Regions from separate parts of the Homo sapiens genome. Here all the other regions are linked to region 4. Evidence: promoter capture Hi-C in human tissues and cell types (Jung and others, 2019). All regions are on one chromosome and are shown on one strand. Each heading gives the region's core, a stretch centred on a gene start or on the middle of the fragment in contact. The rest is flanking DNA. Distances are from core to core; before and after follow the strand shown.

Region 1 (3,595 bases), core at 75-2,574, 1.0 Mb after region 4:
CAAATGACACATGAGTGTCAGCCATGGCAGGTGAGGTGGACCTGTCTTCAGGCTCCCTGATAGTGTATGCAGACACAAGTGATAGCAAGCCAGGTGGATCAATCCCCAGGCCCTTGGATAACACATTTTCACTGTTTATTTCATAATAAAGATGCAAACTAGTTAGAAGCATTACCAAGCAAGTTGTCTTTTTTTTTTTTTTTTTTTTTTTGAGATGGAGTCTCACTCTGTCGCCAGGCTGGAGTGCAGTGGCACAATCTCAGCTCACTGCAACCTCCACCTCCTGGGCTCAAGCGATTCTCCTGCCTGAGCCTCCTGAGTAGCTTGGACTACAGGTGCGTGCCACCACGCCCAGCTAATTTTTGTATTTTTAGTAGAGATGAGGTTTCACCACCTTGGCCAGGATGGTCTCGATCTCTTGACCTTGTGACCTGCCCGCCTCAGCCTCCCAAAGTGTTTATAAGTGTTTATGGGATTACAAGTGTGAGCCACCACGCCCACAGTCTAATTATTACTTAGATTTCATCATTCCAGCTAAAAAAAAGATTCATAATTTATTCAATAACATAGTGATCATGTGCCATAAATACTGCCAGTTATTTAGTTTTGCTTTTTGAATAAAGAAAGAGTTGATCCCTCTTATTGATATAAGCATTAATCAATTGACTGAGTTTAACAATCCCTGGAATTAGCCAGCCCCACGGGATTTTTTAATTTGGCTTAACCTATCTACAACATCATGATTTCCCAATGTCTATGCTAGTTTTTAATCTCATTGCTCATATTTCTGTAAAGTTTTCTTCAATTTTTAAGCTTATAATGATCTCTAAACTATACATCCTTCTAAAGAACTTGGAATCACTGTTTCACAGGGCCTTTCTTGCCCATACCATAAAACTATTAGATTATGACGATATTTTATTCATTCACTCACAGAACAAACAGTAGTAAGCTTTAACTATACACAAAGCCCGGTGAACAACAACAAAAAAGTTAGTCTTGCATTTTAAAGAGTAGATCTTAATCTACTAATTATGTAATTCATTACATGATTATGATAGTCATAAGTGTTACAGAGGTGTACAGGATGCTGTGAGACCATGTAAAATGAAGTTCTAACATAGCTCCTCTTCAGTCTAGGTGACCTCAGTGAGCCCTAGCCTTACCAGTCACTTATAGAATCCATGGTCTGCTATTGTATTCACTCACATGTGTGGAAAACCAGGTGACTAAAAGACAGTAGGGGAAACTTCAACAAATACATACACAAAATAAATATGAACCAGTGTATAAACCAATCTTTAAATATACACAGAGATTTTCCCATCTAAAGAGAAAACTATTGTTTGACCATTTTTTCCTTGTAGGGAAAGTGAAACTGTCTCTGATTTTCCCTCTACCTCATCATTTTATCATTTCCACGTAATAACATGCATTACAATTCCCAAGCAACATGATAGGTGCTTTCATATGTGTTACCTTAATTATTTAAACTACTTAACCAAGGTAAAGTTGACATAAAGTACACATATTTAAAGTAGGCAATTTGATAAACTTTGTCATATCAATGTAACACTGAAATTACCAGATAATGAACATATCCTTCATCCCAAGGAAACAAATGCATCACCTCTCATATTCCTCCGTACTCTCTCCCTTAGCTGTTTCCTACCCGTCAATTCCAGACAACCACTGATCTGCTTTTCCTCACCATAGATTAAACTGCACTTTCTAGAATTTTCTAAAAATATTATGTACTCTTTTTATGTGTAATGTCTTTCACTCAGCATAATTATTTTCAGATTCACCCATGTTGTAGCACATATCAGTATTTCATCCCTTGTTATTGCCAAATAATATCCTATTGTATGGATATGCCACAATTTGTGCATCCATCTGTTGATGCACATGTCAGTTATTTTCAGTTTTAAGTTATTCCAAATAAAGCTATTATAGACATTTGTATATAATTCATAGTATAGATAGATATACCACACCAAGGTATGGTAAATTTCTCTTAAGTAAGTACATACTCAGGATTGGAATAGCTGGAATATATGACAGGTATTTGTTTAATATTTCTTAAAAGTTGCCGAACTGTTTTCCAAAGTGATTGTGGTATTGTATGTTCTCACCAGCAGTGTATGAAACTTCCAGTTCCTTCAGATACTCACCAACATTGGGTACAGTAAATCATTTTAATTTTAGCTATTTTTCAGGTGTACTTAATTGATTTCTCACTCTATAAAAATGACATATAATCCCATGTGATAGATCAACAAAACTGAAGCTCTGCCAGCATTTTCCCTCCAATGCAATAAATTACTAAAAGTTCCTTCAAAGTACACAAAATCGTGTTCTAATATAAAAATATGAAACTTAAAGTCAAAATTATTATGTTAGCTAATATATAATTGAACTTCCTTTCTATAGATTTATGTCACAGTAAAATTAGCACACAAGTTAGTTTTAATCTCAAGAACAGACTAGAATATGAAATTGTGTTAAAATGAAATATCTTATGTAAGGTCAGAAGGTCCAAATTTTAATACTATAATTCTGTAGATGTAGGGAGGATGAGATACTGCTTTGGTGTTATTATCAAACATTAGTTAACACTGTGAACATTTCACATATCAACTTGTCTCAAATGTTGTTACAAATATTTATAGAGAATAATTGTATTCACTATTTAAAGTTTCGAAGACCAAAGCTTGGCACAATTTGTGCTTGTGAAATTCCACCCTGGATGCTAAAATTTGGTGACCATTATAAATAAGTCAACAAAAGTGGGAAGGAAATAATTTTGTATCTCAGTGACAGCGGCAGTCAGGAAAATTTCTAAAATGTCTTAAGTGCCAAGACATGGCATTGTTGAAAAACTCAGGCAAAAAGACAAGTTTCATTGTCTATATGGAAACTTGCAACTCACAAATACCTGGGCATAGCAATACTTGTGAAGAAAGTAAGTAACATTATGGAAACTAGACGGAAAAAATAATTCAAATTGACTTAGCAAGATTTTAGTAAAATAACCAGTGTTAAAGTGCTGCCAATTTGAGGCCATTGCTTTAAAAAGCCAAACATTCCCCTAATGTTTGCTGGATCAAAGGGATGTGATCACAAAATAAAATGCATTCAAAAGCATACATGGAAATGTAATGGCAAAATAGAGATAGCTACAAATAAGATTATTTTTGGAAAAAACTTCACACTCTATCATGAAAAAATGACAATCTGCAGATTATTAGTGCTGCCAAAATTGGAGAAAGTTCTTGTGGTTAAAATAAAAGCAAAATATGCATAAATATACAAGGGTAACAAAAGCCTATTTTTTGCTTGTAGGAGCACTATAATTTTATTGAAATGGTAGGTGTTTCTAAAGAATAGAGAATGCAATCGCACTTAAAAAGACATCCATTTCTATATCTCATATATAGTAGTCATCTTTAAGCTGTTGACAAAAAAAAAATGTCCACAGGAAAAAACAAAAAGAGCAAATTTTTCAAAAAACATCCAAACTATAATAACCAAAGAAACACTTCATCTGTTCCCTGTTCTTCCTTCAGATAAATTTGAGATACATTCTTCTTAA
Region 2 (3,424 bases), core at 40-2,539, 1.2 Mb after region 4:
TTAAGTGTGTTCCTCCCTAAATTCTAACCATGATCTCCTAACACTCTGAAAAGGACATAGCCACTTTTTGTAATGATAAGAACTCCCTGGTCTAACCCAAGAGGCCCTACCAGAACACAAGCCTACCACCATTTCTGAACAATGTGAGGAGTTAGAAGGGAGGGGGGGAAATGTTCATGTTTAATTGATAAAAAGCTTAAGAAAGAGTGTCTTTAATAAACATTTGACTATTGATAAATGGCCTAATTCAATCAAGTCTCTGGAACTTAATTCTAGCACCTGAACTAGAACTGAATCCCCAGTCTCTTTCTAGCTAGTCATTCACCCAAAACAAAGAAATAGTTCCATAATCATCCTGTAATTATTATGTCATTAATATGATGGATTTAGACAACCTAGGAAAAGGCTCTGTATTTTTGGTATGGCCAAAACTGACAGTTTAAAAACTTTTATTAACACTTTAACCTAACAGATTAATCTTAATAATTAATGAAAAGTGCTTTGATTCTTAAGAAAGTTTGAAATTTACATCAACATAAATGTCGGTGAATAAATTTCAAGCAAAAATTCCTAGTCAAAAGTCAACTTAAACCATTTACAAAAAAAACAGCAGGCTCATGTAATGATACATGGATTTCATATTTGAACAAATTATTTTAGTTGATGTAGAAATACGTTTCTGTTTGTGACATATCAAGTTAGAATTTAATTATATTCAGATTCTTTTTATTCTATTGTTTACGAAAAAGAAAAGAGATACAGCTCTTTATTTAAAATGCTGAATACCCTTTTAATTTTATCTTAACCATCTATTACCTTGTGAAAAACTTTGTATACTGAAACAAGCTTCAACTGTCAAGATACAATACTTCATACCTATACCACAGTTCTTCCAATGCCTGGTTGAAAATAAATAATGAAACAAAATAAAACATAACGCAATAGGATCCTTACTTGGACTGATGAAAAAAATGTGCTATGAACTGAAGAGTATGATTATAGCAAATCTACATACCTGTAGATAATTTTTTAAGTAAAAAATAGATTTTTTTAACTTTTATTTTAGTTTCTGGGGTACATGTACGGTTTTGTTACATAGGTAAACTTGTGTCATGGGGGGGCTGTACAGATTATTTTGTCACCCAGGTACTAAGCCTAGTACCCCAAAATTGATTTTTTCAAAGCAGGAAATATATTGCCTGATTGTAGATTTTAAATGTTCTCACCACACACACAAGAAAAGATAAGTCTGTGAGATGATGGACATGTTAATTAGCTTGATTTAATCACTGCACAATGTATACATGTACCAAAACATTATATATCATAGTATATATAATTTTTATTAGTAAATTATACCTTAATAATGCTGGGGAGGGAGAAAGAATCTTGTAGGATCACCTGCAGTGTTACAAAGGGAACTCAACGTGAGACAGGTAATTCAAACAGTCAGAACTATGAAAATATCAAATAGTAATTTACAAAAATGTAAAAGAAAAACACTTATTATGACCCCAATGACACCAAAAATATGTACCATATGTACAATTTGATTAGGAAGCTTCTGAATATATTTTCAGATGGTGCTAACCATTAGATCTCAATGTTCACCTGCTCACAGTAGCTGAAATACTTGCCGTAACACAAGTGGTGACCCTTTAATCTAATGTTCCACTTTTCTGGCCTTTTCAATTTACCACTTGACTCTTTATTTCTAGTTTTTAACTGCCCCTTCAGTCCTCTCCTCCCCAATCTCTCTGACTGTACAAGACATTGTGTGAAATAATGTCAATACTTTTGCAAAAGCCTGTATAACATGCCACTCCTAACCAGAATTGCTATGGAATCAAACAAACTGAAAAATAAAAATGTTCATGATTACTGTGGATATTTACATAACTGCAAATAAGCAATCTCTTTAATCTTTTCACCCTACACTGAGCAATTGCTCAGGTTGAGAGAATCACCTAACTGTAAGAACACTGAGTGTAGGAAAAAATCAAACTAATTATCAACAACACCATATATTATGCACATTCATACTTTTCATTCATATTTTCATTACTAAATTAATACTTTTCAACTGTTTTATAATATATGCGGGGAAAAGTGGCTGCTGACAATTAAGGAGAGAAGCATTCAGAAATTCCTGAAATTGTGCCTAAAAACAAGCAATACATTCACTAGTTCCTCATCAATCAGTGGTTTAGTCAGAATAGATGCCAATGAACTAGTGAAGGGTGTATATTTTTTTCCTTTTCACCAAAATAAGTTGAACAAAATTCCTGTGTGATTGCATATTTTAAAATCTAAGTTTCATGTTTGCCAACATTGCTAAGCTACTATATCAATTGTCTGGCTTAAGCCAAATAAAACCTTTCATAACTTTGGAAGAAACTTCTACACAGGAAACTGTAGATTTAGACAGCCGAAATTTGTCTGAATATGCATTGTTTTTGTACCAGTTCTTAACTATTTAAATTATATGATATTCCATAACAGCCATAGTGGCCATATAATTGAACACTCTGTATATTTAATGATCTGTTTTTCTAGATGAGACCAGAAAAAGTAAGAAACAGAACAACGTGAATTTCTCTGCTGCCAAATAACTTCAAGTGGTGCTATCACAACTGGTTTTTAATGGCACAAAAATATTTGGTTGACAGTATTAAAAGAATTCCTGTGGGAAATATCTCATATTCTTATAGATTAAAAAATGTTTTGAATAGTTGTAAGGAAAATCACCATTTTCTTTGTATCTAAATTCTATCAATAGAAAGAGGGAAATGAGGCTGAGCGCAGTGGCTCATACCTATAATCCTAGCACTTTGGAAGGCCGAAGCAGGTGGGTCATCACTTGAGCACAGGAGTTCAAGACCATCCTGGCAACATGGCAAAACTCTGTCTCTACTAAAAATACAGAAAATCATCCAGGCGTGGTGGCACATATCTGTAGTCTCAGCTACTCGGGAGGCTGAGGTGGGAGAATCACCTGAGCTTGGGAAGTTGAGGCTGCAGTGAGCTCAGACGGTGCCACTGCACTCCAGCCTGAGTGACTAAAGTGAGACCCTGAGAAAGAGAGAGAGAGAGAGAGAAAGAGAGGAAGGAAGGTAGGAAGGAAGGAGGGAAGGAAGGAAGGAAGGAAGGAAGGAAGGAAGGAAGGAAGGAAGGAAGGAAAGAAGGAAGGAAGGAAGGAGAAAAGAAAAGAGAAAAGGAAGAAAGGGGAGAAAGAAAAGAAAAGAGAGAAGAAAAGAAAAGGAAGGAAGGAAACAAGGAAGGAAGGAAGCACTTGTCTTGTTTTGTTCCAACATATTCCAACAATAAGGAAAGATTTAAGAAATTGAAGTCTCATTTTCAAAATCACTCTAAAGTAATGCTGGGGAAATTAAAAGATGAGTAGTATCTTTTATTATTAAAAAAC
Region 3 (3,790 bases), core at 1,179-3,678, 1.4 Mb after region 4:
TTGTCCTATTAGCCTAGTTACATGGCTCTTGTCTTATTTTTTAAGTAAGATTCCAGTTGAAAGATATTTTCAGTTGTAAAAATTCTAGAAAAATCAGTCTTTAGTGCACATTTTTTCCTCAAGGGGTAAATGGAATGGTAGGAAACTCTAATTTCCTCAAATGGGGACTCTCCTTTATTCAGATAGACCTAATTCTGAACTTTTACTCCAGTAATGAGATTCTTGAAGAATTAATGCTCAGAAAGCTGAACAATAAAGTCTAATGTACTTGTTTAGAACATCAGAATACCCAATATCTGTAGTGTCACATAACATATTTCTCTATATCTTCCAACCACTTTCTTGGTATTAAATTTTTAAAGCTTGGGATATCATGAATACTGGTAGGTTCACCCTGTGAGGAACCTACACACTGATTTATTCCTTTATTTCTCTCTCAATCTCATTCTATACGTATGACTAACATCTATTAACAATAAAGTTTGTATGGTCATTTCACTTTAACTTTCAAAAAACCTCACCTGAAAAGACTTTGAATGCAGAGAAGTGATGAGACTCGGCGAAAAATAAGCAGTCATCTAAGAAGTAGGGCATGGTGAATCCCTGCTATCCATCTCAGAATGTTTGAGGAGATGTAGGTCTTAGTTGCCCTGCATAGTGCTTTGTTGAATGTTCTGATAAGTGAGTGTTTAATTAATAAGACGCACACCTCTAGAAGCTGTTAATTAACTCTTTGGGGCCTTTAGGGTATGAATCAGTAAGTCAACATGGTTTCTACGCAGTATGACACTCTTGAGAAATAGGAAGAATCATGAAGCTTCCAATAGTGATCAACAAATTTAGAGTCATTTAGAACTCTAACAAGTAAGCTGAAATACCACCCTAGAATTTTGTCTTAATTTATTTCCTTCTGTATTCAAATACTTTAAATCTGATTGATCCCACAGTATTAATAATTAGGGAAAATCTTTTATCCATGCCTTCAGAGAAGAAAGAGTAGGCCAAGGACCCATTTTCAATCCACTCTTAGAGAGGGCTAAAATTAGCAATTGGCTTTGCATAGGAACCCATTTTTTTTCTAGTAATACAGAAATATGTAACTACATCTAAATCTAATGCCCCCCACTTCACAAACACACATTAGAGGGATTCAATAACCAAAAATTTTTCCTTTCTTTTTTTTGATTGAGAGAAAAGTGGATTTATTTAAACAAGGATAAACTCTTGAGGGGCACATAACATAGTGGTTATATGAAGCCTTTGAGGTCACTATGCCAGTGTTCAAATTCTAGTCCTGCAGCCTGATAAATTTTTGTAGATACCACTACCCTATAACCTTTTCCTCACTCAGCCCATTGAGTCAGAGATGTCCACCATCCAGTATGGCTGAAATGAAAAGTAAAAGCTCAGATTTTTAGTTTCTAATTTTTATAAAATCGATAGCAGAAACAATTACTTATATTTCTATATTTTGAAGAATTTTTTAAAGAATTGCTTGAGAAGCAAAAGTCTAAGTCTGTAAAGGAAAGAGGCTTAAGGTTTTTCCAGAAACAATGTGTATTAGGCTGTTCTTGCATTGATATAAAGAAAAACCTGAGACTGGGTAATTTATAAAGAAAAGAGGTTTAATTGGGTCACAGTTCTGTAGGCTTTACAGGCAGTATGGTGCTGGCATCTGCTCAACTTCTGGGGATGTCTCATAAAGCTTACAATCACTGCAGAAGGTGAAGAGGGAGAAGGCACATCACATGGTGAAAGCAGGAGGAAGAAGGAGAGAGGTGGAGGGGCAGATGCCACACACTTTTAAACAACCAGATCGCATGAGAACTAACTCCCTATTGTAAAGACAACACCAAGCCATGAGGCATCCACTCCCATGATCAAAACACCTTCCACCAGGCCCTACCTCCAATATTGGGGATTACAATTCAACATATGATTTGGGTGGGGATACAGATCCAAACTATATCATTCTGTCCCTAGTCCCTCTCAAATTACATATTCTTCTCACATTGCAAAATACAATCATGCCTTCCTGACAGTCCCCGAAAGTCTTAACTCATTCCAGTGTTAATTCAAACGTCCAAAATCTCATCTGAGACAAGGCAAGTCTCTTCTACCTATGTGCCTATAAAATAAAAACAAGTTATTTACTTCCAAGATACAATGAAGGTATGAACATTGCATAAACATTGCCATTCCAAAAGGGAGGAATTGGCCAAAAGAAAGGGGCTACAGGCCCCATGCACATTCAAATTCCAACAGAACAATCATTAAAATTTAAAGCTCCAAAATAATCTCCTTTGACTCCATGTCCCACATCTAAGACACATTGGTGCAAGGGGTAGGCTCCTAAGGCCTTGGGCAGCTCTGCCCTGTGGCTTTGCAGGGTTCAGCCTCCAGGGCTGCTCTTATGGGTTGGAGTTTAATGCTTGTGGCTTTTCTGGATGCAGGGTGCAGCTGCTGGTGGATCTACCATTCTGAGGACTGGAGGATGATGGCCCCCTTCTCACAGCTCCAGTAGGCAGTGTCCCATTGGGGACTCTGTGGGGGCTCCAGCCCCACATTTTCCCTTGGCATTGCCCTAGTATAGGTTCTCTGTGAAGGCTCCACCCATGCAGTAGCCTTCTGCCTGAGCACCCAGGCTTTCTCAAACATCTTCTGAAACCTAGGTTGCTAAGCATTCTTCATTTTTGCATTCTGTGCACCTACAAGCTTAACACCATGTGGAAGCCATCAAGGCTTATGGCTTCTATTCTCCAAAGTGGCAGCCTTGGCTGTATCTGAGCTCCTTTGAGCTGAGGCTGGAGCCAGAATGGCTTGGATGTGGGTAGAAGTGTCCTGAAGCGGCATAGGACAGCAGAGCCCTGGGTCTGGCCCATGAAACCATTCTTCCCTCCTTGACCTCTGTGTCTGTAATGGGAAGTGCTGCCTGGGAGATCTCAGAAATGCCTCCGAGGCCTATTTTCCATTGTCTTAGCTAGCAGCACTTGGCTTCTTTTTAGTTATACAAATTTCTCTAGCAACTGGTTGCTCCACAGACTGCTTGAATTCCTCTCCCCAAAAACCATTTTCTTTCTCTGCCACATGGCCAGCCTGCAAGTTTTCCAAATTTTTATGCTTTGCTTCTCTTTCAGATAAAAGTTCCAACTTTAAATCATTTCTTTGCTCCTTCATCTGACTGTAGGCTGTTAGAAGCAGTCACGACACACTTGAACAATTTGCTACTTAGAAATTTCTTCTGCCAGACATCCTAGGTCATCACTCTCAAGTTCAAACTTCCACAGATCCCTAGGACTTGAACACAATCCAGTCAAGCTCTTTGCTAAGACATAACATGCATAACCTTTACTCCAATACACAATAAGTTCCTCATTTCCATCTGAGACTTTGTCAGACTTGCCTTCACTGTCCATATCACTATTGGTATTTTGGTCATAACCATTTAATCAGTCTCTAAGAAATTCCAAACTTTCCCTCTTCCTCCTTTCTACTGATCCCTCCAAACTCTGTCAACCTCTGCCCATTACCCAGTTGCTTTCACATGTTCAAGTATCTTTATAGCAGCACCCTTCTCTTCAGTACCAGTTTTCTGTGTTAGGCTATTCTTGCACTGCTATAAATACCTGAGACTGCATAGTTTATAAGAAAAAAGGTTCTCATTGTTCAATTCCCCAACATGGAACATGTATACATATGTAACTAACCTGCACGTTGTGCACATGTACCCTAAAACTTAAATTAAAAAAATAAAATAAAAATAAAAAAAGAAAAAAGGTTAATTGGCTCA
Region 4 (3,604 bases), core at 1,105-3,604:
GGAGGAGTAGGTGGAGGAATGGAGAGACAGAGGAATGGAGGGTGGGGGGAAGGGGCGGGGGGAGCTAAGGGAGAAGGAGGGAGGAGGGAGGAAGGAGAGTTGAGGAAAAGTAGGAAGAACGGGCCTGAAGAGGGGAGAAGAGTGGGAGGAGGAAAAGTGAGTAGGAAGGGGAAGGCCCACAAATCTCTCCAGCCGGTAGGCAAAGCCCATTAGCTCACCCGGCCCTGCGAGAAATCCAGAGCTTGGAAATAAATGTTTGGGACCATGTCACTATCAACACTGATTGTTGGAACCCTTGAATTTTTCCACATGTAAATACAGTTTGTTTTAAAGTGAGAAGATATGTAGACATAGGTAAAGATACATACATACAGTGGAAGGACATTTGAGGTTAGTCCAATATTCAAAGCTCCTTTGTGGCATTCCTAATAGATGCATATTTAAAATTCACTAGCTATTTGTAATTATCTATTATTCTCTCCAGTTTCCTCCCCCCCCCCCAACCTTTTCTCTCTTTCTCTTTCTTAAGACTGGGGGTGGGGAGGATGGAATAACCCCCTATTATCCTGAGTATTCATCAACCGCATTCTTTATGTTACAATTTAACTTTAGGATCAAGCATAAGCACCAATTTTCCTTCCTTCGTTTTCTTAAATACCAAATCTGCCAGATATCTTAATGAAAGTTTATCCAAGTGAAGAAATGCTTACATTTTATAATTATTTACCTTCTAGAGGAAGGAAAAGGTGCCTTTCATTTATGCTTCTCCACCTCCCTCTTCTCTGGGGCTACATCCTCCGTAAAATGTGGTATGTTTCGTGCCCATGTGGGATGAAACAGCCTTTGATCAATGTGCTCCCCACTAAATTCCAATCCCTGGGAAATGCTGGGCCTTAGCCCTGCCCCTGGCCACGGGATCCTTTTAAAGCCCCCGATTCGCAATTTCCCCATTCACTTCAACCTCCAACCGAACCTTCCCAGTTCCAAAGCCCAAGAAGCTGGGACTGTGAGATCCACGTTCCCAAGGCTCCCCGGTGCTTTCCAGCAGCACTCAGGGTTGGCAAGAGCTGGCTTCAGTATACTGTTATTTCAGGAATGAGGCCCGCACAAAATAAAAGCATTTGAGAAACGGAAAGGAAAAAAAAGGAGTGAAAATAGGAAGGCTTAAAAAAAAAACCGGAAAGAAATAGACGCCCACCCTTATTTTCCCTCCAATGTCAACAAGCAAAACGAAAATATTTCCAGGGTGATCGCTCGCAGCTACCCGCTTCCAATTCGGATTAGAAGCTGAGGCTGGAGCGGCGAGGAGAAAACGACATCGAGTCACCCCGCGCGTGAGCGACGCTCTGGAGCAGGAGAGAAGGAAAAGGAAGAGACACACGTATATAGCATGTGTTACCTGATTTATTTCGAGATTGTTTGGTACTGTTTTCTCTCTGGGCACCTCTCATTTCGGAAGGCCATCAGAGGCGCCCACTACTGAGCGGCCCCGGCCGCCGCAGCAGCACCCGGAGCCCCAGTCCCGGTTTCCCCGCGGTGCCGGAGCCCGGAGCTCGCCGCCGCCCAGGCCTCAGGAATCGAGTAAGTAACCCCTGTTTGGCCCCGCGCTCCTCTGCCCACTTCCTCCTCCTCATCTCATCGCTCCCAAAGCTCTCCCACACCCTCCTCCCCCGAAGTAAAGGACACCCCCGCACACACGCCAGCGGTGGGCCTTATCTCCCCCCTTATCCAAAGCTGCGCTAGACTATTACCTACAAAGGGCACAATTTTCCTGCTGGCTCAGAAATGCCAGACACTGGCCTGCAAGGCCGACTCGGAAAAGTAGTGCCTCGCCTCTACCTCCTCCATTTCCTGCCCTCTCGCATCCTCTCCCTGCACTCCCACTCTTCCCACTACCACCACCACCCCCGCTTTCAAAAATAAAATTGGATACAAACTTTAATCACTAAGGACAAATATTGACGCTTAAACGAAAATGACCCAGTACAATGAGGAGGAAGCCGGAAATGTGAGCTATTGGCCCTAGGAGGGGAATTTCGGTGGAGCGGAGCCGGCGGGGTGGAGGGGGTGGCGGGGGCGCAGGGAAGGGCTGCGGCACCGCGTGCTCCCGCCGGCGTATCCCTACGCGGCTCCGCGCGGCCTCGGGGTCCGAGGCCCGCGGAGAGGGGGAGGCGAGCGCCCGAGGGGGCGGCAGCCGGCGGGCGGGGCGGGGGTGGGTGGGCCCGGCCCCTCCGATTGGTCGACGGCGAGAGAGACGCTCCCGCACGCCGCCAGCTCTGATTGGCCCAGCGGTAGGAAAGGTTAAACCAAAAATTTTTTTACAGCCCTAGTGTGCGCCTGTAGCTCGGAAAATTAATTGTGGCTATAGCCGCCTCGATCGCTGTCTCCCCAGCCTCGCCGCGGCCGCTCCGGGACGCGCCCGCCCGCCGCCCGGCTCTCCCCCCCTTTGGGCTGCTGCTGCTGCTGCTGTGACTGCTGCTGCGAGAGGAGGAGGAGGAGGAGGAAGCAGCGGGGGGGGGAGCGGGGGGTGGGGGGGGAGACCAAGAAGTACAGTTGGGAGCGAGGGAGCTTCACCCCCGGGGCGGTGGTTGTTTCTTTTTTCTTTCTTTCTTTTTTCTTTTCCTTTTTTTTTTTTTTTCTAATTCCTGAGGGGTGGTTGCTGCTTTTGCTACATGACTTGCCAGCGCCCGAGCCTGCGGTCCAACTGCGCTGCTGCCGGAGCGCTCAGTGCCGCCGCTGCCGCCCGCGCCCCCCGCGCCCCGTTCGGCACCCACCGGTCGCCGCCGCCCGCCGCGCCGCTGTCCCGCTCCCGCGCCGCCGCCGCCGTTTCCCCCCGACGACTGGGTGATGCTGGACATGGGAGATAGGAAAGAGGTGAAAATGATCCCCAAGTCCTCGTTCAGCATCAACAGCCTGGTGCCCGAGGCGGTCCAGAACGACAACCACCACGCGAGCCACGGCCACCACAACAGCCACCACCCCCAGCACCACCACCACCACCACCACCATCACCACCACCCGCCGCCGCCCGCCCCGCAACCGCCGCCGCCGCCGCAGCAGCAGCAGCCGCCGCCGCCGCCGCCCCCGGCACCGCAGCCCCCCCAGACGCGGGGCGCCCCGGCCGCCGACGACGACAAGGGCCCCCAGCAGCTGCTGCTCCCGCCGCCGCCACCGCCACCACCGGCCGCCGCCCTGGACGGGGCTAAAGCGGACGGGCTGGGCGGCAAGGGCGAGCCGGGCGGCGGGCCGGGGGAGCTGGCGCCCGTCGGGCCGGACGAGAAGGAGAAGGGCGCCGGCGCCGGGGGGGAGGAGAAGAAGGGGGCGGGCGAGGGCGGCAAGGACGGGGAGGGGGGCAAGGAGGGCGAGAAGAAGAACGGCAAGTACGAGAAGCCGCCGTTCAGCTACAACGCGCTCATCATGATGGCCATCCGGCAGAGCCCCGAGAAGCGGCTCACGCTCAACGGCATCTACGAGTTCATCATGAAGAACTTCCCTTACTACCGCGAGAACAAGCAGGGCTGGCAGAACTCCATCCGCCACAATCTGTCCCTCAACAAGTGCTTCGTGAAGGTGCCGCGCCACTACGACGACCCGGGCAAGGGCA
Region 5 (3,694 bases), core at 412-2,911, 1.2 Mb after region 4:
GGGCGCAGTGGCTCATGCCTATAATCCTAGCACTTTGGGAGGCGGAGGCAGGTGGATCACAAAGTCAGGAGTTTGAGACCAACCTGGCCAACGTGGTGAAACCCTGACTCTAATAAAAATACAAAAAATTAGCCGGGCGTGGTGTCAGGCACCAGTAATCCCAGCTACTTGGGAGGCTGAGGCAGGAGAATCACTTGAACCCAGGAGGCGGAGTTTGCAGTGAGCCAAGACAATGCCCTAGCCTGGGCAACAGAGCAAGACTCCATCTCAAAAAAAACAAAAAAAGAAAGAAAGAAAGAAACCAAATTTCTAGGTATGATCCTAGAGTCAGAGACCCTGAAAGGACAGGAGGCCCTTGAAGAAAAGCTTTCAACTATAAAATCATAAATGATCCAGGTGAGGAATAAATGCAGAAACCAGTGTGACTACACCTCAAGTTTTGGATAAGTACAAACAGGCCAAGAAAATGAACAAAAATAGAGATAGGTATATGAACAAGAGTAAATAGAAATTATTATAAGCTAAAAACAATCAATTAGCTTTAATAGTTCCATGTTATATATGAACGATGCTCTTGGGGAATTTTATGTTATGTTATAGAACAAGGGCTTATGAACTACTTCTTATGAAAGACTTAGGGTTCTCTCTAGGCCCTAATGGGTACAGTTAGACATCCTGCCTCACTTTCAACCAAGCAGCTCTCCTTTCATTTGTTAATATACCAGGGTCCCACAAATTTGTTTGAAAATAAAAGTTCCTATTGCTAACAAATCTGAAATTCTTTAGTGTGGTAGGATGTGAATGAGCTCTGGGGAAAAGGCTGATCTAATTTTGATGCTAAATCTGCCACTTATTAATGTTGTGGCTCAGAGGAGAGATGGCTGGTTTCTTACCTGACCATCTCCACTAACTGTGGCTGGAGCCACAGTCACCTCATTGGTAAAGTAAAAAATTACACTACTCAAGAGTTGTGAACATTAAATGATTTAGTTTATATAAAAGCACATAACACAGTGCCTGCCACAAATACTAGCTATTAATCACCCCAAAATACTAGCTATTATCAACTATATTAGTCCAAACATCATTCCTGCCAGCCACATTACTTACTATAATGTTAAAACAACAGAGAAAACAAGCCTAACTCCATTTTGCTTGGTTTCTCTAGCAAGATAAAAGGATGTAAAAAAATGGTTAAAAGAAAACTGAAGCTCAAAATAAATGAAAAGATGGTCACACATTATCTAAATAGGGGATGAGCATTCAAATAATCACAAGACTGTACTGATGGATGTATTGCAAATATCTTAAAGTATTCTTGGAGAGAAACAAATGTCTTGATTTTCAAAAAGATTTCAAAATGTAGACCAGTGAGTTTAGCATCAATAATCAGCAACATTCTAAATCAGATTATTTAAACAAATGGTTCGTGAAAAATTATGAATTAAAAGTAGTTCCTAAAAGCAGGCATGAGTTAACTAAAATAAATGTTGTTATATTACTTGCTCTTCTAACTTCAAATTGGAGGAGGACATTACAGATATTTGTTTTTTCTGAATTTCAACCAAAATTGAACTATTTTGGTTGTCTTCACTATTGGAGGACATTTTTATCTGCTTATGTTCATCAACAGACTGAAAGAATAAATCCAGCTACCAGTGTTTAAGTTGTTACAAGAAGGGAGAATGAAGGAAAAGTTCGTATCCGTGGAACCAATGGGCCTTGAAAATAGGATTAAAAGAATTACATCTTTATTAAAAGAAGTTTTAAAAAGTAGTGCTGCTAATGGTTTCTTCAAGCTATATTTCTCTAACTTTTAAAGGCATGAGTAAACTTCAAAATTTTTTGTCCAAAACGTTGATGATTTTAACCATATGCTTTTTATGTACATCCAAAATACCTACCTGCATTTACATTTTTATGTTATGTTTTTTGGTAAGACTTGATTTCCTAAATATCATTCCATCCTAGACAGTAAAAACTCTGCTATTCTCATAAGAACTAACATCTGCTGGCTCCAAGGTATCATAAAATTTGCTCAGGTTCCCTGTAGAAAACAGAATGAAATCACCAGTCTAACACTTTTTCCTTCAACTTCAATATACTCAGAAGGCTATATTGCTTAGAGTTGCCAACTCTAATTGTGCACATTGGCTTTTACTAAGTCAATCCAACATTCAAATTCAGAAACCATTAACAGCAGCACATTTGTTTTTCATAAAGATGCAATTTTTCTAATCCTATTTTCAAGGCCCATTGGTTCCAGAAATACAAACTTTCCTCCATTCTCACTGGATGAGTGTCATAGCTAAACATCTTCTAGTATGAATATCAATATATCCCATTTGTTGATATTATTCTATAAACTAGTTTACTCTCTTTAATACATGTCATTTTATGAGACTTTACATTTTTCATTCAGTATGTTTTACTAAAATCAATGACTAAATTTTGAAAAGTTAATAAAACAGAATAGAGGTACAATTAATTCAAAGTTACTTTTTGGGTTTCTTCCTGGAAAAAATATTTTTGAGCTGAAATTTCTTGTGTGTGGTTTCTGTTGCTTGATTTGGAAAATACAAATATTTAAGGGAAAGAATCTGGAAGATTTATTTCTTGGTGACATAACCAGGGGAAAATAGTTTTTAATAGCTTAAGAAAAAATAATTTGCTTTTCTTGGCTTAGAAAAATTTTAAATGGCATTATTTCTAAAATTCACTTATTACTATAATATACATATTCCACTAGGATAAAAGTCTACATAATTAAAATAAGATGATTTACATGGAATTGAAATTACATTTTATTTAATCATCATCTGCATTCTTTTTACTAATTCTTATCCTCAAACATACAATCCTAAAAATTATTTATGTTGTAAGCACACTGACCTTCTTTGTCTTACATTACTTTTTAAAAATTTAATTATTTACTTATTTGATCTCATATGTATTTGAACTAAAAAGCTCTGCTCCATATATCTATAAATAGAATATTTACTTCATGAATTAAATATTTTATATATATTTTTTAACTATATAAAGTCTTTCCATATTAATATAATAATATGTATTTTTATAAATACATTTTGTTTTGTTTAATCAGTCAGTTATCTAGAGTATCCAGGAAAACTGAAGTCCTCAAAAACTGAAAAAAGCATAACATTTTAGATTTGTTTCACAGTGTATTCAAGAAAAGGACTATGTACTTTTCTTACTCTTTTAGATGAAGAAGAACATTCTAAGGTCCCTAACCTTTGCACTTTGCTGCTCCGATTGAATGTCAAAGTCGACAAGTGTCAATAATGGAATTTGAATGCTTGTTGGTTTGTCTGTGCAACAGCAGTTCTATCAATGCTCAGAACGTCTTGGTCTTCCTTTATTTTTTCTTTCAATACATGTTCATCTAGATTTGACCTTCCAAATTGGACTTTTAAAAAATCACTTATTTGGCCAGGCGCAATGGCTCACACCTGTAATCCAAGCACTTTGGGAGGCCAGTTCGAGACCAGCCTGGACAACATGGTGAAAACCTGTCTCTACTAAAAATGCCAAATTTCCCAGCACTTTGGGAGGCTGAGGTGGGTGGATCACGAGGTCAGGAGATCGAGACCATCCTGGCTAACACGGTGAAACCCCGTCTCTACTAAAAATACAAAAAAATTAGCCGGGCGTGGTGGCAGGCGCCTGTAGT
Region 6 (3,777 bases), core at 818-3,317, 1.3 Mb after region 4:
TCCATTCTTTTCTTCGCCGCAACGAGGTGTATGATGCATGGAAAGGAATAAGAATTCAGAACAGTGTGACTAAATCACACTTGTTAAAGTTAGAAAAGCCCTGAATAGGTCAATTTTACTGACTTCACAGAGGGAAAAAAAGCACAAGAACCTTTTCATGAGGGGCAAAAGGTGTTGTAACTCCCACCTGAGCTTACAATTACCGTTTACTCACCTGCCTACCACCATTATTATCATCAAACTTTATTGATAAGGCCATCCCATGGGAAAACCATAAAATATGAGGAGTTTTCTTTGGCTTATCCTTCTTTCAGAAGACTTTTACAGCCCTCACCTTATTACATCCTGCTGCACCCTAGCTACCACTACCATCACCATCATCTTCAACCCCTTTTCACCATACATAAGATTTTGAGGGCTTTGGCAGTAACTCACGTTCCCAATTTTTTCCACTTTCTTTCTCCCATCAACATTTTCCTCTTTGGTTTCCCATCCCCTCAAACCCCTACTGTGTGGAAATGACTGGTGATCAATCAATCAAATCAATAGATCAGATAAACCCATTCCTCAAGATGGGTTGGCGGGTTATTTTTATAAAAGTAAATTAGATGTTTTCTCTGCACTTTCAGGCTGAGAACTAAGAATATAGATCCAGAATTTTTAGTAGAACTACCCCTAAAATAAAGTCAGGATTAAAACATAATAAGCAGCAAGTGCTACTGTTATTCAGTTGCCTCCTAGGAGTGGGACTGAATTGATTGTCAGTTTTAGAGAGTGAAAATAAAGCAAGGCCTATCCAGGAATTTGAGATGAGGTGATTCCACAATGAAAAACTGGTCCTACAGATTTAAGCAGCAAATAACTGTTTAAAGGCAAAAGGGGCCAGGCATGATGGCTCACACCTATAATTTTAGCACTTCGGGAGGCCGAGGCATGTGGATCACCTGAGCCCAGGAGCTCGAGACCAGCCTAGGCAGCATGGCAAAACCCCATCTCAACAACAACAACAACAAACACAAAAATTAGCTGGGCATGGTGGCATGCACCTCTAGACCCAGCTACTCAGGAGGCTGAGGTGGGAGGATCGCTTGAGCCTGGAGGGTGGAGGCTGCAGTGAGCCATGATTGTGCCACTGAACTCCAGCTTGAACAACAGAGTGAGACCTTTTCTCAAAATAAATAAAGAAATTAAGCCAAAAAAGTGAGAATAATCCAGAAAGAAGGCTTCCTCTTAAGTGTTCTAAAAGGATAGCTTCTCTTCCCCTCTGAATCCTTTATAACTCCATAGAAAACAGTGGAAAGGATAACAATAAATGCAGAATGGCATATACCCACCCTACATCTGACCATGTCACCTGAATGTCAGGAAAAGGCCTAATTATGTTCCTTGGATCCTATTAGAATTCAAGAGAGTCTAATTAATTACATTGCATTTCTCCTAACTGAACGTATTTGATATAGTTTGGATATTTGTCCTCACCCAAATCTCATGTTGAATTGTATTCTCCAGTGTTGAAGATGGGGCCGGGTGGGAGGTGTTTGGATGATGGGGGATGATCCCTCATGAATGGCTTGGACTATCTCCTTGGTGATAAGTGAGCTCTCACTTCAAGTTCACACGAGACTGGTTGTTTAAAAGTGTGTGTCACCTCCCCACTCCACACACTCTGTCTTGCTCCTGCTTTTGCTTCCTGATGCAGCTGCTTCCCCTGCTAGCTTCTGCTATGATTCTTAATTTCCTGAGGCCTCCCCAGAAGCTTAGCAGATGTTGGTACCATGCTTCCTGTAGAGCCTGCAGAACCATGAGCCAATTAAGCCTATTTTCTTTATAAATCACCCAATCTCAAGTATTTCTTTATAGGAATGCAAGAATGGCCTAATACAATATTCAAACACCAAACTTTTGCTGATACCTTCTAAAGTGATTTAATATTTAGCTGGATTAAGATACATTTCTCTTTTGTTTTTGTTTTTTGTTTTTCCTTCAACTTTTAAGTTCCAGGGTACATGTGCAGCATATGCAGGTTTGTTTCACAGGTAAATGTGTGCCATGGTGGTTTGCTGCATAGATCAACCCTCACCTAGGTATTAAGCCCAGCATCCATTAGCTATTCTTCCTGATGCTCTCCCTCCCTGCACCCTACCTCCCAGTAGGCCCCAGTGTGTGTTATTCTCCACCATGTGTCCATGTGTTCTCATCGTTCAGCTCCCACTTATAAGTAAGAACATGTGGTATATGGTTTTCTGTTCCTGTGTTCATTTGCTGAAGATAAAAACTTCCAGCTCCATCCATGTCTCTGCAAAGGATATGATCTTGTTCCTTTTTATGGCTGCATAATATTCCATGGTGTGTATGTACCACATTTTCTTTATCCAGTTTATCATTCATGGGCATTTGAGTTGATTCTATGTCTTTGCTGTCGTGAACAGTGCTGCAATTAACATACACATACATTTACCTTTATAGTAGAATGATTTATATTCCTTTGGGTATATACCCAGTAATGGGATTGCTAGGTTAAATGGTATTTCTGCCTCTAGATCCTTGAGTAATCTCCATACTGTTTTCCACAATGGTTGAACTAATTTACAATCCAACCAACAGTGTAAAAATGTTGCTTTTTCTCTGCAACCTCACCAGCATCAGGTGTTTCTCGACTTTTTAATAATCACCATTCTGATGGGTGTGAGACAGTGTCTCATTGTGTGTGTGTTTTTTTGTTTTTGTTTTTGCTTTTTTTTTTAGATGGAGTTTCACTCTGTTGCTCACACTGGAGTGTAGTGGTGTGATCTCAGCTCACTGCAGTCTCCACCTTCTGTGTTCAAGTGATTCTCTAGCCTCAGCTTCCTGGGTAGCTAGGATTACAGGTGCCCACCACAATGCCTGGCTAATTTTTGTGTTTTTAGTAGAGACGGAGTTTTGCCATGTTCGCCAGGTTGGTCTCAAACTCTTGACCTCAAGTGATTCGATCACCTTGGCATCCCAAAGTGCTGGGATTACAGGCATGAGCCACCGCGCCCGGCCCTCATTGTGGTTTTGATTTGCATTTCTCTAATGATCAGTGATGTTGAGCTTTCTTCATAGGTTTGTTGGCTGCCTGAATGTTTTCTTCTGAGAAGTGTCTGTTCATATCCTTTACCCACATTTTAATGGGGTTGTTTGTTCTTGTAAATTTGTTTAAGTTCCTTGTAGACTCTAAATATTAGACCTTTGTCAGATGAATAGATTGCAAAAATTGTCTCCCATCCTGTAGGTTGTCTGCTCACTCTGATGATAGCTTCTTTTGCTGTGCAGAAGCTATTTGGTTTAATTAGATCCCATTTGCCAATTTTTGCTTTGTTGCAATTGCTTGTGTCGTTTTCATCATGAAATCTTTGCCTGTGCCTATATCCTAAATGGTATTGCCTAGATTTTCTTCCAAGTTTTTATAGTTTTGAGTTTTACGTTTAAGTCTTTAATCCATTTTGAGTTAATTTTTGTATGAGGTATAAGGAAGGGGTCCAGTTCTAATTTTCTGCACATGGCTGGCCAGTTTTCCCTGTTATTGTTTATTTTTGCCTATTTCAACTTTCTTTTTGTTCTTGTTTTTCTTGTCTGCTTTTTTTTCATCTCTATATTTGACTATAGTTTTCTTGATTACAGCACTCCACTGTAAAAAGACTAATTTGTAAGTATTTTGGAAGAGTGAAAATATAGTTTAATTCAGATAATAAAGAACCTTGACTGATAGACTAAATAATGTTAGGGAGAGGCCACTGAAAGCATTTGAACTGGGAA
Region 7 (3,636 bases), core at 248-2,747, 1.2 Mb after region 4:
AGTTTCCTTCAAATATAAAGTCTGAAAGATAAGAGTGATATAATCAAATGTCAATTATGTCTGTAGACTCTGTACTTGTAGGGATATTGTTTACAATATTACATCTTGACTCTAGATGTTTCTTAGTAAAATTATACTTATGGTTACCTTGCTAAAAGTATGATACCACTTATTTAAGAACCATTTCTATGTTACAAATATATGAGATAAAGGCAGATATAATTATTAAAATATTTCCACAAGTTTTATGAAATATTTTAAACACAATAGCCATATGTAGTATACATTTGTCATTTTTGGCTGCACATCTTTTGAAAACCCACCTGAATTTTTGTATTTACCACAAGATAAATTCTGTTTTCTCAAGATACAATTTTAAAACTGCATTTCCCAGCTTTTCTTGTGCCCAGAATTACAGGCAGGGACCAGTTTCCAATAATCATTTCCACCTACATTATGTCTTCAATTTGGAAGTGATCAAGTAGGGAAAAGCTCTGGCAGAGCACACATTTTTTTTTCTGGTGGCTGTGGAGTTGGCAGTGTCACAGGTAGCTTCTCCCTTGGGACTGTTTTCGAAGCAATTCAGAAATTGGCAATAGACTATGGGTATTGTTCTGGTGAGCTTACCCTGTTTATTACCCTAGCACAATCAATGAGTATACATGCTATCTAGTATCTTTAATAAATATCTATTCTGCTTAATCTGGGTGGAATGAATGGGTTTCCTTGCAACTAAGGTTGTTTAATAGAATAATTTGTATTAAAAGTGCAAGGAACCTTCAAGGAAATGAGTATCTGGGATTCATTATCTGGAAGGTTGGATTTGAAAGCTCTGAGAATACAATTCGTTCTAGAGAAAAGAGCACTGGTACCCATGGCATACTAAAATGAAACACTTGCTTATATTTATCATCTGTGCTCTTGGTCACCTGGAATAATGTTACTATAGAAGGCAAGGAAGTAGGGGAGTTTATGCTTACAAAAGTACAATGGACATGAAGCACGTAAGAGCTATAGGGTGACTTGGCTACTTCTAAATGTGCTTAAGCTTTGAAAGAAAGGAAAGAACACCTTAAAGTTTTAAATTCTCAGCTCAATGTAGTAAAAAAGCCAGGGCGATAACATGATTACCCTAAAATTAGCTCTCCTCTCTGCAGGACTGATGAAACTGAAAATTAAATGCACAGTCTAATGCTGTGGTTTCTCAATTACGTCAGATGAATTCTAACGGTACCATGACTCTTACTGAAAGTTAAGACACTTCCATGGAATTGTAATCGAGACAGATGGGAAAACCCTGAAAACTCAGAGTACTTTGAACACTCAAATTTACTAAACATCCCTTAGTAGAAGAAATAGCTTTTTCTCCAGGGTTTAATCGGTTGTTCCTGCTTCCCTGAAAACCATGTAAGCACGTTGCCTGAGGCAGTTACCTCAGGAGGTGGTATAACTTTCTTCACAACCCATTCCTGACACCTTGCAATGCCTTGGACCCATAGCTAGTGTCAGAGTCCAGAATGCTCCAAGAAGCTAGGGCAAAATTAAACCCAGGAAGAAAAGGCTTACCCACCAAAGGAAAAGAAAAGCAATGTTTTGCCAAGTTATATTAGCAACTACCTGCAGGAATATATGTGAGAAAGCATTTTAAGGTACGAAAGCAGTACAAATGAAATATAATGTATATGGAAGCAATACTTTAAATATGGGTCCAGAAAAAGGAAAATACATGATTTCTAAAAGCCATAAAAAACAGATACAAGCATCTTTGAAAAGTGTGCAGTATCTATTCCCTACAGGATGAAAACAAAGGTGGGAGATGCTGCCATTAATATGAGCCTCATTAGCAGCACTTAACCACGTTGTGATAATCTGAGTGGTTTGACACACACTTTGCCTTGCTGATTGATTAGGGGGTCCCTGGGTCTGAAAACGTTGTGTAACCATTAAGGTCCCACTTGATCTGTATAAGTAATACAAAAACAAATAAACAAACAACAACAGCAGCAGCAAGTAAGCCTAGAAAACAGACTCCAGGATTGTGCCTCCACGCCATGGCTCCGAGTCAATTCACAACACAGAGTTTCTTGAATGAAGAGTAGGCTGAGAATTCTTGAGGAGGAACCCATAACCAACCCACTCCTTGGATAATGGTATTAATTTATTGATGAAGGCAGAGCCCTTATGACATACTTACCTCTTAAAGGTCCTACCTCTTAATACTGTCACAATGGCAATTAAATTTCAACATAAGTTTTTGAGGGAACATTCCAACCATAACACCTGTAGACACCTGCTTTTTCTTTCTTGGTGATCATGTAAATGTCTATAGATTAACATTTCCCATGCCCTACCTTTTCTAATAATTATTATATTTTTCCATAGGTTAGAAAATATCCAGAAAAAATTGTGAATAAATCAGAGGAGAAATGGACATTACCCAGATGTCAGGCTTGAAGCTTCATAAAGTAACTGAAGAGAATTTGGAAAACAGTAAGCGTGTTTTAATTATAACTGATATTTATATTATACAAGGTTGGAACATAGTATTGTTGCTATGCTTTTGTAAATTTAATATGGTAGAAGAATATATAATGATTTTGTCAGCTAAAAGTTGGGCTGAGAGAGACATCACTCATTTATGTTTGCCTGTCAAATACATTTTGAACAACCACTTTGCATTTTTATATTTTGCCACACTCTAAATTCTACTTTCTCAAGGTTGATTTCATCTTAAAAACTCCCACATGTCCTAGAGAGTCTAGTAGCTAGGTTGTGGAAATGTGGCTATGGTTTCATCAGTCAGAAACATTCATGCAAGACAATGACTCAGAAGTGACCTATGTGCAAAACGTTTACGTATAGTAATTTTTTTCTTATTTTTTATTATTATACTTTAAGTTCTAAGGTACATGTGCACAACGTGCAGGTTTGTTACATATGTATACATGTGCCATGTAGGTGTGCTGCACCCATTAACTTGTCATTTATATTAGGTATATCTCCTAATGCTATCCCTCCACACTACCTCCACCCCACGACAGGCCCCATGGTGTGATGTTCCCCACCCTGTGTCTAAGTGTTCTCATTGTTCAATTTCCACCTATGAGTGAGAACATGCAATGTTTGGTTTCCCGTCCTTGCGATAGTTTGCTGAAAATGATAGTTTCCAGCTTCATCCATGTACTTACAGAGGACATGAACTCATGCTTTATTATGGCTGCATAGTATTCCATGGTGTATATGTGCCACATTTTCTTAATCCAGTCTATATTTGATGGACATTTGCATTGGTTCCAAGTCTTTGCTATTGTGAATAGTGCTGCAATAAACATACGTGTGCATGTGTCTTTATAGCAGCATGATTTATAATCCTTTGGGTATATACCCAGCAATGGGATGGCTGGGTCAAATGGTATTTCTAGTTCTAGATCCTTGAGGAATTGCCACATTGTCTTCCACAAGGGTTGAACTAGTTTACAGTCCCACCAACAGTGTAAAAGTGTTCCTATGTCTCCACATCCTCTCCAACACCTATTGTTTCCTGACTTCTTAATGATCGCCATTCTAACTGGTGTGAGATGGTATATCATTATGGTTTTGATTTGCATTTCTCTGATGGCCAGTGATGATGAGCAT

The links. Contacts are between HindIII fragments. The study calls those that stand out against the background at their distance.
Region 1: a contact is called between a fragment that was not itself captured here and the fragment with the promoter of FOXG1 in region 4, in 1 of the 25 tissues and cell types used here (dorsolateral prefrontal cortex).
Region 2: a fragment that was not itself captured here is called in contact with the fragment with the promoter of FOXG1 in region 4 in 1 of the 25 tissues and cell types used here (lymphoblastoid cells).
Region 3: a fragment that was not itself captured here is called in contact with the fragment with the promoter of FOXG1 in region 4 in 1 of the 25 tissues and cell types used here (dorsolateral prefrontal cortex).
Region 5: a fragment that was not itself captured here is called in contact with the fragment with the promoter of FOXG1 in region 4 in 1 of the 25 tissues and cell types used here (mesendoderm cells).
Region 6: a contact is called between a fragment that was not itself captured here and the fragment with the promoter of FOXG1 in region 4, in 1 of the 25 tissues and cell types used here (dorsolateral prefrontal cortex).
Region 7: a contact is called between a fragment that was not itself captured here and the fragment with the promoter of FOXG1 in region 4, in 3 of the 25 tissues and cell types used here (dorsolateral prefrontal cortex, heart right ventricle and lymphoblastoid cells).

Annotation. Positions count from the first base shown.
Region 1 is chr14:29,789,820-29,793,414 of GRCh38, forward strand. The region is part of intron 1 of PRKD1 (protein kinase D1); the gene reads right to left. Among named protein-coding and RNA genes, the nearest start is that of PRKD1, 140 kb to the right of the region's middle. The HindIII fragment of the contact is 3,911 bases long and covers 1-3,280 here.
Region 2 is chr14:29,916,888-29,920,311 of GRCh38, forward strand. All of the region lies in intron 1 of PRKD1 (protein kinase D1), which reads right to left. Among named protein-coding and RNA genes, the nearest start is that of PRKD1, 9.2 kb to the right of the region's middle. The HindIII fragment of the contact is 3,093 bases long and covers 1-2,836 here.
Region 3 is chr14:30,166,230-30,170,019 of GRCh38, forward strand. No RefSeq gene overlaps it. Among named protein-coding and RNA genes, the nearest start is that of PRKD1, 240 kb to the left of the region's middle. The HindIII fragment of the contact is 3,678 bases long and covers 590-3,790 here.
Region 4 is chr14:28,764,433-28,768,036 of GRCh38, forward strand. It overlaps FOXG1 (forkhead box G1), which reads left to right and starts at 2,355. Exons shown (of 1, transcript NM_005249.5): 1 at 2,355-3,604. The coding sequence starts at 2,848. It overlaps FOXG1-AS1 (FOXG1 antisense RNA 1), which reads right to left and starts at 887. Exons shown (of 7, transcript NR_125758.1): 1 at 728-887. RefSeq lists an enhancer at 1,486-2,010. The HindIII fragment of the contact is 7,501 bases long and covers 1,804-3,604 here.
Region 5 is chr14:29,932,565-29,936,258 of GRCh38, forward strand. It overlaps LOC105370429 (a long non-coding RNA gene), which reads left to right. Exons shown (of 3, transcript XR_943703.2): 3 at 3,227-3,486. Among named protein-coding and RNA genes, the nearest start is that of PRKD1, 6.6 kb to the left of the region's middle. The HindIII fragment of the contact is 5,901 bases long and covers 1-3,694 here.
Region 6 is chr14:30,025,129-30,028,905 of GRCh38, forward strand. No RefSeq gene overlaps it. Among named protein-coding and RNA genes, the nearest start is that of PRKD1, 99 kb to the left of the region's middle. The HindIII fragment of the contact is 4,284 bases long and covers 1-3,777 here.
Region 7 is chr14:29,952,503-29,956,138 of GRCh38, forward strand. No RefSeq gene overlaps it. Among named protein-coding and RNA genes, the nearest start is that of PRKD1, 26 kb to the left of the region's middle. The HindIII fragment of the contact is 4,705 bases long and covers 1-3,636 here.